Regions from separate parts of the Homo sapiens genome. Here region 2 is linked to region 1. Evidence: promoter capture Hi-C in human tissues and cell types (Jung and others, 2019). All regions are on one chromosome and are shown on one strand. Each heading gives the region's core, a stretch centred on a gene start or on the middle of the fragment in contact. The rest is flanking DNA. Distances are from core to core; before and after follow the strand shown.

Evidence for each region. Contacts are between HindIII fragments. The study calls those that stand out against the background at their distance.
Region 2: a contact is called between a fragment that was not itself captured here and the fragment with the promoter of TYMS in region 1, in 2 of the 25 tissues and cell types used here (mesendoderm cells and spleen).

What each region holds. Positions count from the first base shown.
Region 1 is chr18:653,763-658,902 of GRCh38, reverse strand. TYMS (thymidylate synthetase) reads right to left here and starts at 1,250. Exons shown (of 7, transcript NM_001071.4): 1 at 956-1,250. The coding sequence starts at 1,160. TYMSOS (TYMS opposite strand RNA) reads left to right here and starts at 612. Exons shown (of 2, transcript NR_171001.1): 1 at 612-1,061. RefSeq lists enhancers at 538-657, 525-1,024, 1,025-1,526 and silencers at 888-937, 1,108-1,287. The HindIII fragment of the contact is 10,369 bases long and covers 1-5,140 here.
Region 2 is chr18:466,687-471,826 of GRCh38, reverse strand. All of the region lies in intron 2 of COLEC12 (collectin subfamily member 12), which reads left to right. Among named protein-coding and RNA genes, the nearest start is that of COLEC12, 31 kb to the left of the region's middle. The HindIII fragment of the contact is 6,644 bases long and covers 1-5,140 here.

The DNA of each region.
Region 1 (5,140 bases), core at 1-2,500:
CTAGATGGGTCCGTGGGCCGGAGGGCTTTTCCGCTAGCTACAGTGAATCTGCTTCACCACGAATGGGTTTCCCCATTCAAAACCACCTCCACCCCTGTGTCAAGGCTGCGCTCCATTTATCTGAGCGGTCAAGGTCAGCCCCTGGCTCACACACCTTCGAGTCCCCTCCCCCGCGCAGCTGGCGCAGGATCCAGGACGGCAGGACGGTGTGGCCTTAGGGAGGGCCAACGGCTGCCTAACGTCCTGTGCCCACCCCGCCCCGCCCCACTGTCCCCTGAAAGCCTGGCGCCAATGACCCGCGAGACATTTTTTGCCTGGGGTGCTCCTGTCGGAAAGGAAAGAGGAAAGGACGACTAAGAACTTATACTCGAACTCCCGAATTTCTCTTTTCAAGGTTTAAGAGGAAAGCTGGTTCGTGGGGATTGGATGGGAGGCCACCAGGAAACCAAGTTCCCGCGCCAGCTTCAGTGCTCTCCTCTTCCCGCCGCCTTTGCCCCGCCCACATCACTTTCGCTCCAGTTTTTGAAAACGCTGCGAAGCGGAATGGTCCACAGGGGAAAACGGAGGAGGGGCCAAAGCCAGGACTTTGAGACCGGCGCGCGGTCAAGCCCAGGCAGCTCTCCCTAACCCTCCAGCACTGGGCAAACGCTGCCCGATGACGCCCGCCTCGGGGGCCACGGCATCACTGGGGCGACTGCGAGCCCGGCCGCGGAGCCGCTGGGACGCGGCTTACCTCCCGGCTGTCGCTGCTGTGTGTGTTGCCCGCGCCAGTCACGTCCCTAATGGGACCCTCCGTTTCGGCGTCTGTAAGGCGAGGAGGACGATGCGTCCCCTCCCTCGCAGGATTGAGGTTAGGACTAAACGGGGTCCGCAGCGCCCGGCAGCTCCCGAGCGCTCTCCCCAGCCGCGCCTCCCTCCTTCCCGCCACCCGTCCCGCAGGGGCCCGCGGCGTCACCTCTCAGGCTGTAGCGCGCCTGCATGCCGAATACCGACAGGGTGCCGGTGCCCGTGCGGTCGTCCTTCCTGACGCCGCAGCGGAGGATGTGTTGGATCTGCCCCAGGTACTGCAGCTCCCCGTGCGGCGGACGCGGCTCGGCGTCCCGCTCCTGTGCGGCGGGGGGCAAGGGCCGGCGCGGCAGCTCCGAGCCGGCCACAGGCATGGCGCGGCGGGCGGGGGACGGAGGCAGGCGAAGTGGCGCGGCGGGACGGAGGCAGGCCAAGTGGCGCGGCGGGACGGAGGCAGGCCAAGTGGCGCGGTGGCAGGACCCCTTCCGCGCGCCTTTTCCCGCGGCCGTCCCGCGCTCCGCCTCTTCCTGCTCGGCGGGGTCGCGGCGGCCCCCGCTCTAGAGAGCGTGCGCCAGGGGGAAACGCAGGAGCCACGGGTGTGGCACAGAACGGAGCCCAGGGCCACAGCTGAGAGTCTTAGGAAACCCGGGAACCTGGATGCAGGTGCGGTGGCTGGGAAGGACTGCGCCCTTTGGGAACCGTCTGGTCGACCGCGCCTTCTCTAAGCCAGCAGCACAGTTCCCACGTTTTCCTGCGGTCTTGTCAACAAAACTGCTGTTTGAGATCTGTTTCCTACAACTAATAAGGGATTTGCATTTCCATTTCTTCGTTCTCACTGAAGCAACCGAAGCAAGTGGTATAATGCAGCTTTTCTACTTGATTAAAAACCGCCAGGGCGCTGGACGCGGTGGCTCACGCCTGTAATCCTAGTACTTTGGGGGGCCGAGGCGGGTGGATCACCTGAGGTCAGGAGTTCAAGACCAGCCTGGACAACATGGTGAAACCCCCGTCTCTACTAAAAGTACAAAAATTAGCTGGGCGTGGTGGCTACTTGGGAGGCTGAGGCAGAAGAATTGCTTGAACCTGGGAGGCAGAGGTTGCAGTGAGCCAAGATCCGACCATTGTACTCCAGCCTGGGCGACAGAGCAAGACTGTCCCAAAAAAAAAAAAAAAAAAAAAAAAAAGACCGCCAGGGCTTTTCCGAGGTTTTTTGTTTGAGCCCTGGCGGTCTTTTTTTTTTTTTTTTGAGACAGAGTCTCGCTCTCTCACCCAGGCTGGAGTGCAATGGTGCGATCTCGGCTCACTGCAACCTCCGCCTCCTGGGTTCAAGCAATTCTGCTGCCTCAGCCTCTCGCGTAGCTGGGACTACAGGCGCCGCCACCACGCCCGGCTAATTTTTTTTTTTCATGTTTAGTAGAGACGGGGTTTCGCCATGTTAGCCAGGCTGGTCTCAAACTCCTGACCTCAGGTGATCCACCCACATTGGCCTCCCAAAGTGCTGGGATTACAGGCGTGAGCCACCGCACTCGGCCCCAAGTTTTTAATAGACCACATTTCCCAGTTTTACTGAATTGTTTATAACATTAACACTGGGGAGTGGGAACTGTTGATGAAAAGAGTTAAACTCTGTAAAATATCTGAAGAAATTTATTCTGAGCCAAATATGAGTGACCAATGGCCGGTGATAGAGCCCTCAGCAGATCCTGAGAACATGTCCCCAAGGTGGTTGGGCTACAACTTGATTTTTTATACATTTGGTTGAAAGAATTGTTATCTAAAGATCTGGAATCAATAGAGGGCTGGGCGCGGTGGCTCACGCCTGTAATCCCAGCACTTGGGAGGTCGAGGCGGGCAGATCACGAGGTCAGGAGATTGAGACCATCCTGGCCAACATAGTGAAACCCTCTCTACTGAAAATACAAAAATTAGTGGGGCGAGGTGGCACACGCCTGTAACCCCAGGTACTCAGGAGGCTGAGGTAGGAGAATCGCTTGAACCCAGGAGGCGGAGGTTGCTTGCAGTAGCTGAGAAAGCGCCACTGCACTCCAGTCTGGGTGACAGAGCCGTATGGGGAAAAAAAAAAAAAAGATTTGAATGAATAGAAAGGAATATCTGGGTTAAGATAAGGGGTTGTGGAGACCATGGATTCATCATGCAGATTAAACCTCCAGGTAGCAGGCTTTAGAGAGATAGATTGTAAATGTTTCTTGTCAGACTTAAAGAGTGTGTTCTACCTGTCTTGAGGCCTGTGTTGATGTCAATGCTGGTCAGCTGTGCCTAAATTCCAAACGGAGGAGGGAATAATGAGGCATGTCTGGCTCCCCTTCCCATCATGGCCTGAACTAGTTTTTGTGGTTAAATTTGGAATGCCTTTGACCCAGAGGAGTGGTCTTTTCAGATGGTTCTGGGCGTAGAATTTTATTTTTGGTTTACAGAACGATTTTATAATGAGTTTAAAATGCACTGATACATGTGTTGTACTTGCAAGCATCCTTTTACCTCAACGGTTGATTGAGTACAGAGGTGCTCTCAGCATTTTGGGTGGGACTTTTCTTAGCTGGACCGGTTTGTTCTGCACATTGCAGGGCTTTAGCAGGACTGTGGAAAGCCAACCATATGTTGGCATTCCCCCACCCCACACCAGCTGAAAACTGTCCCTACACGTTTCCCTACACGTTTCCGAGCACGAGGAAGATCCCAGGCTGAAAATATTCCAGATTATCCAGATGCACGTTATCTGTGTTTAATTTCCTTGTGTTATTCTTTTTCCTTTTTTTTTTTTTTTTTTTTTTTTGAGGTGGAATCTTGCTCTGTCCCTCAGGCTGCAGTGCAGTGGTGCTCAGCTCACTGCAAACTCCGCTGCATGGGTTCAAGCAATTCTGCCTCAGCCTCCCAAGTAGCTGGAACTATAGGCGCCTGCCACCATGCCCAGCTAATTTTTTTTTCTTTTTTTTTTTTTTTGCATTTTTAGGAGAGACAGGGTTTCACCATGTTGGTCAGGCTTGTCTCAGACTTCTGATCTGAAGTGATCTGCCCACCTCGGCCTCCCAAAGTGCTGGGATTAAAGGCGTGAGCCACCATGCCCAGCCTTACTTGTGTTATTTTTTAAAAACCTGATACATAATAATTGTGAGGTAGACAGGGCTTGACTCTGGAGGCAGGGCTCTGACATGGGACCAAATTGAGGAGTAGTCAAAACAAGGATGGGGCAGAAGTAGTTTTCCATAAGACGTGCCCACCAGTGTGCCATGTCAGTTTACGATTGTCATGGCAACATCCAGAGCTTACTGCCCCTTTCCATGGCAGTGAGCCGACAACCGGAAGTTACCACCCTTTTTCTAGACATTTCTGCATAATCTGCCCCTTAATTTGCATGTAATTGAAAGTAGGTTATAAATATCACTGCAGACCTGCCTTTAAGCTACTGCTGTCAGCACACTGCCTATAGGGTAGCTCTGCTCTACAGGGGCACTCAGGGAGCTGTTGCCATATCAGTAGAGCTTTTCTTCTACCAGGTAGCTCTTAAATTCTTTCCTGAGCAAAACCAAGAACCCTCCTGAGCTAAGCCCAATTCTGGGCTCACCTGCCCTGCATCAGTTGCACATCCTTGTGTGTTTTTTTTCTTTCTTTCTTTTTTTCTTTTCGACGGAGTCTCGCTCTGTCACCCAGGCTGGAGTGCAGTGGCAGAATCTCAGCTCACTGCAACCTCTGCCTCCCAGGCTCAAGCAATTCTCCTGCCTCAGCCTCCCGAGTAACTGGGATTACAGGCACCCATCACCATGCCCAGCTAGTTTTTGTATTTTTAGTAGAGATGGAGGTTCACCATGTTAGCCAGGCTGGTCTCGAACTCCTCACCTGAAGTAATCTGCCTGCCTCGAGCCTCCCAAAGTGCTGGGATACAGGCGTGAGCCACTGCACCCGGCCCCTTGTGTTATTTTGAGGCTGGTTTATTTGTTTCACCCAAATACCAGCTAAATCACATCTCAAGACTAGGCTCCTCTGCCCACATGGAGCTTCCACTTCTGCTGCCTTCCTTGAGTATCTTGGCTTGATAGTAAAGACAGAATGGTTCTTTTCAAAGTAGTTACTCCATAAATGTTGGTTAGAATGAATGGTTCTCTCAGACAAATTTCATTCATTCATTCATTAACACACATTTATATCATGGTGCCTTCCTCATGTCTACAAACAGCAAGACAGACAAGGCCCTTTTCTTCATAGAACTGATATTCTGGCAGTGACAAACACTACAAAAGTAACCAAACAAGACATCTGCAGATAGTGACAAGTGTGATGATAGTAAATTAATGGGTATAGCACTAAACAGTGATTGTGTAGAGGGTGCTTTAGATCT
Region 2 (5,140 bases), core at 1,111-3,610, 190 kb after region 1:
TTGGCTTGGACTAATTACTTGGGGAGGAATGGTTGGTGAGGAATTAAGCACTTTAGCCACTATTATTACTTGTAACAATAATATCTATAATATATAATGTAATATCATTATATTTCAAATGTAATACTAAGTTATACAAAATTATTAAAAAGCAACAATTTATATTATTATTTATATAATCTGATATACTATTATTTATAATTTGTTTCACTTTTAAAATTATTTTATATAAACTTTAAAAATTCGATTTATTCATAAAATAATTACAAGTTTACTTCCTAATTGTAACTTTGCTATAAATGAAGCTACAAGGTGCTGTTCTAGTTTTTGACAGTTTATAAAAAGAGAAGACATCAAAAACAAGACATCAGCATAATAGAGAAGTGAATGAATGAACAAAAGTCATTTTGTTTTCTGGCTCAGTATTCTCTATAGTCTTAAGCAGATTTTGAAGAAAAAAAATTTGGAAGAGGAACTAAAAAAAAAAAGAAAAAAAATGAGAAAGTTCCAAATCTTAGTGAATACAGCTCTTGCCACAATGAAACATTGTGAAATTGGTCTCCTGGTCTGAGTCATCACTATAAACGCTTTCTGCTTCTTCTGATATTTTATTTTTATTCTTTTATAGGTTTTTGAATACTGACATTTGGCCGTGATTGACACATGCTCCTCTTTTTATACACTCTGGTAGTTGTATTTTTTTATAAGTGTGAATATTTCCATGCACAGATCAATTTCTTTCACATGTTGCAGAAGGTGCAGGAATTTAGACTTGTCAGGAAAACAAGAGAATCAAACTCAGAAGTCTGCAAAGGTTCTGGCAGAAATCCAGACTGCATTCTTATTCCCAAGGCCTGAAGATGCCCTGTAATCTCTAATATTTGAAATAACCTTTCTAACATGTCGTTCTCATTCTGTGAAACGGGAAAATATAAAAGTAAAATTATTGCTGACATGTAAGATCTCAAACCTTCAACCTAAGATCAGTATTTCCACAGCAGTTTAAATATGTAAGAAATAACTATATTGTTCCCCTTGTTAAAAGCATCTGGATGTTTAGTTCGTTGTTTTAGAGACAAGGTCTTACTCTGTCACTCAAGCTAGAGTTCAGTGGCATGATCATAGCTCACTGCAGCCTTGAACTCCTGGACTCAGGTGATTCTCCCACCTCAGCCTCCTGAGTAGCTAGGAATACAGGCGTATATCACCATGCCTGGTTAATTAAAAAAAAATTTTTTTTTTTTTAGAGACAGGGTCTTGCTACATTGCCCAGGCTGGTCTTAAATTCCTGGCCTCTGGGGTGGTGGCTCACACCTGTAATGCCAGCACTTTGGGAGGCCAAAGGGAGTGCATCACTTGAGGTCAGGAGTTTGAGACCACCCTGGCCAACATGGTGAAACCCCATCTCTATTAAAAACAAAAAAAAAATTAGCCGGGCATGGTGGTGGGCCCCTGTCATCCCAGCTGCTTGGGAGGCTGAGGCAGGAGAATTGCTTGAACCTGGGAGACGGAGGTTGCAGTGAACCAAGATTGCACCACTGCACTCCAGCCTGGGAGACCGAGCGAGACTCCGTCTCAAAAAAAAAAAAAAAAAAAAAAAAAAAAATTTCCTGGCCTCAAGTGATCCACCTACCTTGGCCTTCCAAAGTGTTGGGATTACTGGTATAAGCCATTGCACCCTGCCTGATAAAAAATATTAAGATATAATGATTGTCCCACCTCATGGTTTACATAGAAGTCTTATGATTGAATTGCTTTTGGAAATAATTGAGGGGAAATATGAATACTTATAATTCTGATACACATTCACCAAATGCCTTCCATATGCCATGAACTGTGGTACAAAGATGGATAAAACAAAATTCCCACTTGATCATTTTATTTGCCAACATCAATACTTATTAATTCATCTTGTTTCAATTTCTTGGAAAACAAAAGTTATAAAAAAAAAATCTTTATGGAAGTAAAAATTTTCTCCTAAAGATGTCCATGCTGGCAGTGAGGCCTCATCAAAGGCTTCCCAAACAGAGTCATAGAGTATATGTAGAATCAGAAGCTCCCACTTTGTGCTGAAAATGATAGGAAGTAGGGTGTCAGGGATCCACATATAAATTCTGCAGGTGTGAGTAAAAAACCAGTAAAACAGTTGGGGGCGGGGGAGTCCATTAGCCCAGGGAAGAAGTGAGTGCAACATTCATGGAAATTTGGGGAAGAGATGCAGGCCTTCAGCAGTTCCCTTTTCTTGGGAGATGTATGCACCTCATGAGGCTTGTTGAGAAATAGAAGCAAGCAGGACTCTTGGGAAAGGGTCATTCTTAGTCCTGCATATCAAAGTGATGTGACGTTTACTACCTATCCATAATGTGTTGGACACCATGGACAATAAAGAGGAGAGACGTGGCCTTTTGCCTCTGGGAATTTCACATGTAATAAAAAATAGATTTTTCAAACAGCGGTGTATTTGCATAAAAGAAAAATATCAGCCAACCTACAAACTGCCTCCTCTCTCACCCGCAGAATTTCCACAGGCACAATAGAGGGCACTACGTGCCAGATGTACTGTGAGCCCTCTCTTCCTTCTGTCTGGTGGTGTTCTAGGTTCAGTACTGGCAAAGCTTCAATGGTTTCCAAATAAGGTCGGGAACGCCCCTCTGCCCCCACCTCTTTCCGTCTGTGCAAGTGAAGAGAACTTGTATGAAGTCCCTTTCCTTTGTCCTGCAGAAAAGGTTGGGGATGAGGTATGAGAATCTGTTTTGATATAAACTCGTAAAAGAAGTTTGGAAGGCAGCATCCTTCCATGTGCTGCGCACGCCATCGGCCACAGCTGTTACTAAACTGCTGCCATGTGAAGCCACTCTGCTGATTAATAGCAGCTATGTTCACTTAAAGCACAATTCATAAAGAGTGTAATAATGTGGTTCAGAAACCTTTGCTATTTTTTCCACTCTTGATAGATTAAAATGTACCTCCGATAAACAGTGAAGTCCGTGAATAAGATCTCAGAGGGCCCAAATAACCTTAAGTAAATTTGCACCGCCAGTCTTTAAATTTTCTTGTTATGGAACGAGGGATAACAAGACTACCTATGTTTCAGGGACATTGTGAGGATGAACTAATGCAAGTGGAGTGCTTAGCACAATGCCTGGCACTTAAAAGGTACTCCATAAATGCTCATTATTTACTAAGAGAGAAAGACAAAGATGGGGAATTAAAGTTTACCAAAAAAAATGAGTTCAGCATTTCATTTGTGTCTCTCATATGTATATGTGAATATACACTCTGTGTGTGTGTGTGTGTTTGGCTATTTAAAGACTTCTGAATTGGAAGCATGGAGATCAGAATTATAGCCTTTCTTTTGCTATGCATTAACTAGCTATGTGAATTTTGCAAAATGATATAAACTCTCTGGGTCTCAAATAAGCCCTTCTGCAAAATAAAAGGGTTAGGGTAGATGATTTCAAAGGTTTCTTTAGGCTATACAGTGTTATGGGTTTGCATCTATGTAATGTGATTCAAGGTTCAAGAATCTATTCTGCTACTGCATTTGATTTTTTTTTTTTTTTTTGAGACGGAGTCTCACTCTGTCGCCCAGGCTGGAGTGCAATGGTGCGATCTCGGCTCACTGCAACCTCCGCCTACCGGGTTTAAGCGATTCTCCTGCCTCAGCCTCCCGAGCAGCTGGGACTACAGGCACATGACACCACAACCAGATAATTTTTGTATTTTTAGTGGAGATGGGGTTTCACCATATTGGCCAGGCTGGTCTCGAACTCCTGACCTCGTGATCCACCTGTCTCGGCCTCCCAAATTGCTGGAATTACAGGTGTGAGGCACTGCGCCCGGCCTGATTTTTAAAATATATTATTTTTTACTCTTCCTTATTCCAACAATTCAAAATAAATATTTTGTATCTTTATTATGGATCTATCTTCCCAGGTATCTGATGTAAAATTTAGTTGGCAAAAATTGTCAGATGGAAAACTTGTATTAATTTTGTTCACAAATCTTAGTAATCTCAAGACTGTTGGTTTTCCATTTGGCTGTAAGTTGTTTTCGTATAACTCTATGAGTATTGAAGCATTTTCTAGGCATGTTTTGAACGAACTCTGTTCCAGATCTCTAGACTCAAACATGGAAGATTCTTTTCCTTCCAAGCTTCATAAAAGCAGCTAATTATTCAAATGCAGGTGTCTGTAAATTTAATAGAAAGCATAATGTTTCCATTAACAATCTGAAGACAGTTGGCAGTTTCTCTCAATTCATTAATCTGTTTACATTTATCATATGAAATTTTTCTTGGTATTTCTCATGCTAATGAAAAACATATTGGACAAAAAACATAAACCCACCAGTTACCAACAGAGGAAAATCACTTTAGCTGTGCCCCTTCTTAAGAAGATGGCCCATTGGGAGCTGTGACTCCCTCATCTTTTCTGGTTAGTTTTCAAGTATTAGAATCCATATACACAAAAGGGTATCCAGTGGTCCTCTGTGTCTTGGGGCTTTTTTCCTTCCTCCAAGAGAGTGGTTCTGTAAAGTGGGAGCACATATATTTAACAAGCTTGTAAGTGAGTCGTTTTCCCAGCTGGGAAATCATGAGGTCAGTTCTCTCATTCTCTGCCTTTTTGGAAATAGTTAACCTCACTTTGAAAATTGAAGTCAGCATTAGAATGAAGGAAGGAAGAAAGGAAGGAAAGAGGGCAGGAAGGAAGGAAAGAAGGAATAGAAAGTGTATTAGAGTTTTTTATTTTCTATTTATAATTGCAAACACCTAGAAAGGGTGTATTCTGATAAATTGAAAGTCTTTTTCTTTTCCTTACTGACTACTTGGGTGGATATAGGTACACCCACAGCTGAGGAGAGCTGAAGATTTTGGAGTTCCTGAAGTACTAAAGGAGAGAAGAGATAGGGGAGGGGAGGAAAACAGGGCTGGACACGGTAGGAAGTTCTGCAGGCTTTGGGGTTGGGGATAAGGCCATCTTGTTCAGTTCTCAAGGGCCAGGGACTTAGGAATAAAAGAGTGAGCAGCTCCTTGCATACTTATAATTCCTTACTTTGTAAAAAACTGTATTTTTTTCCTGTTATATTGTAAGTTGAATGAGGACAGAGATGGTGTCTGTTTTGTTCACCACTGTACCTG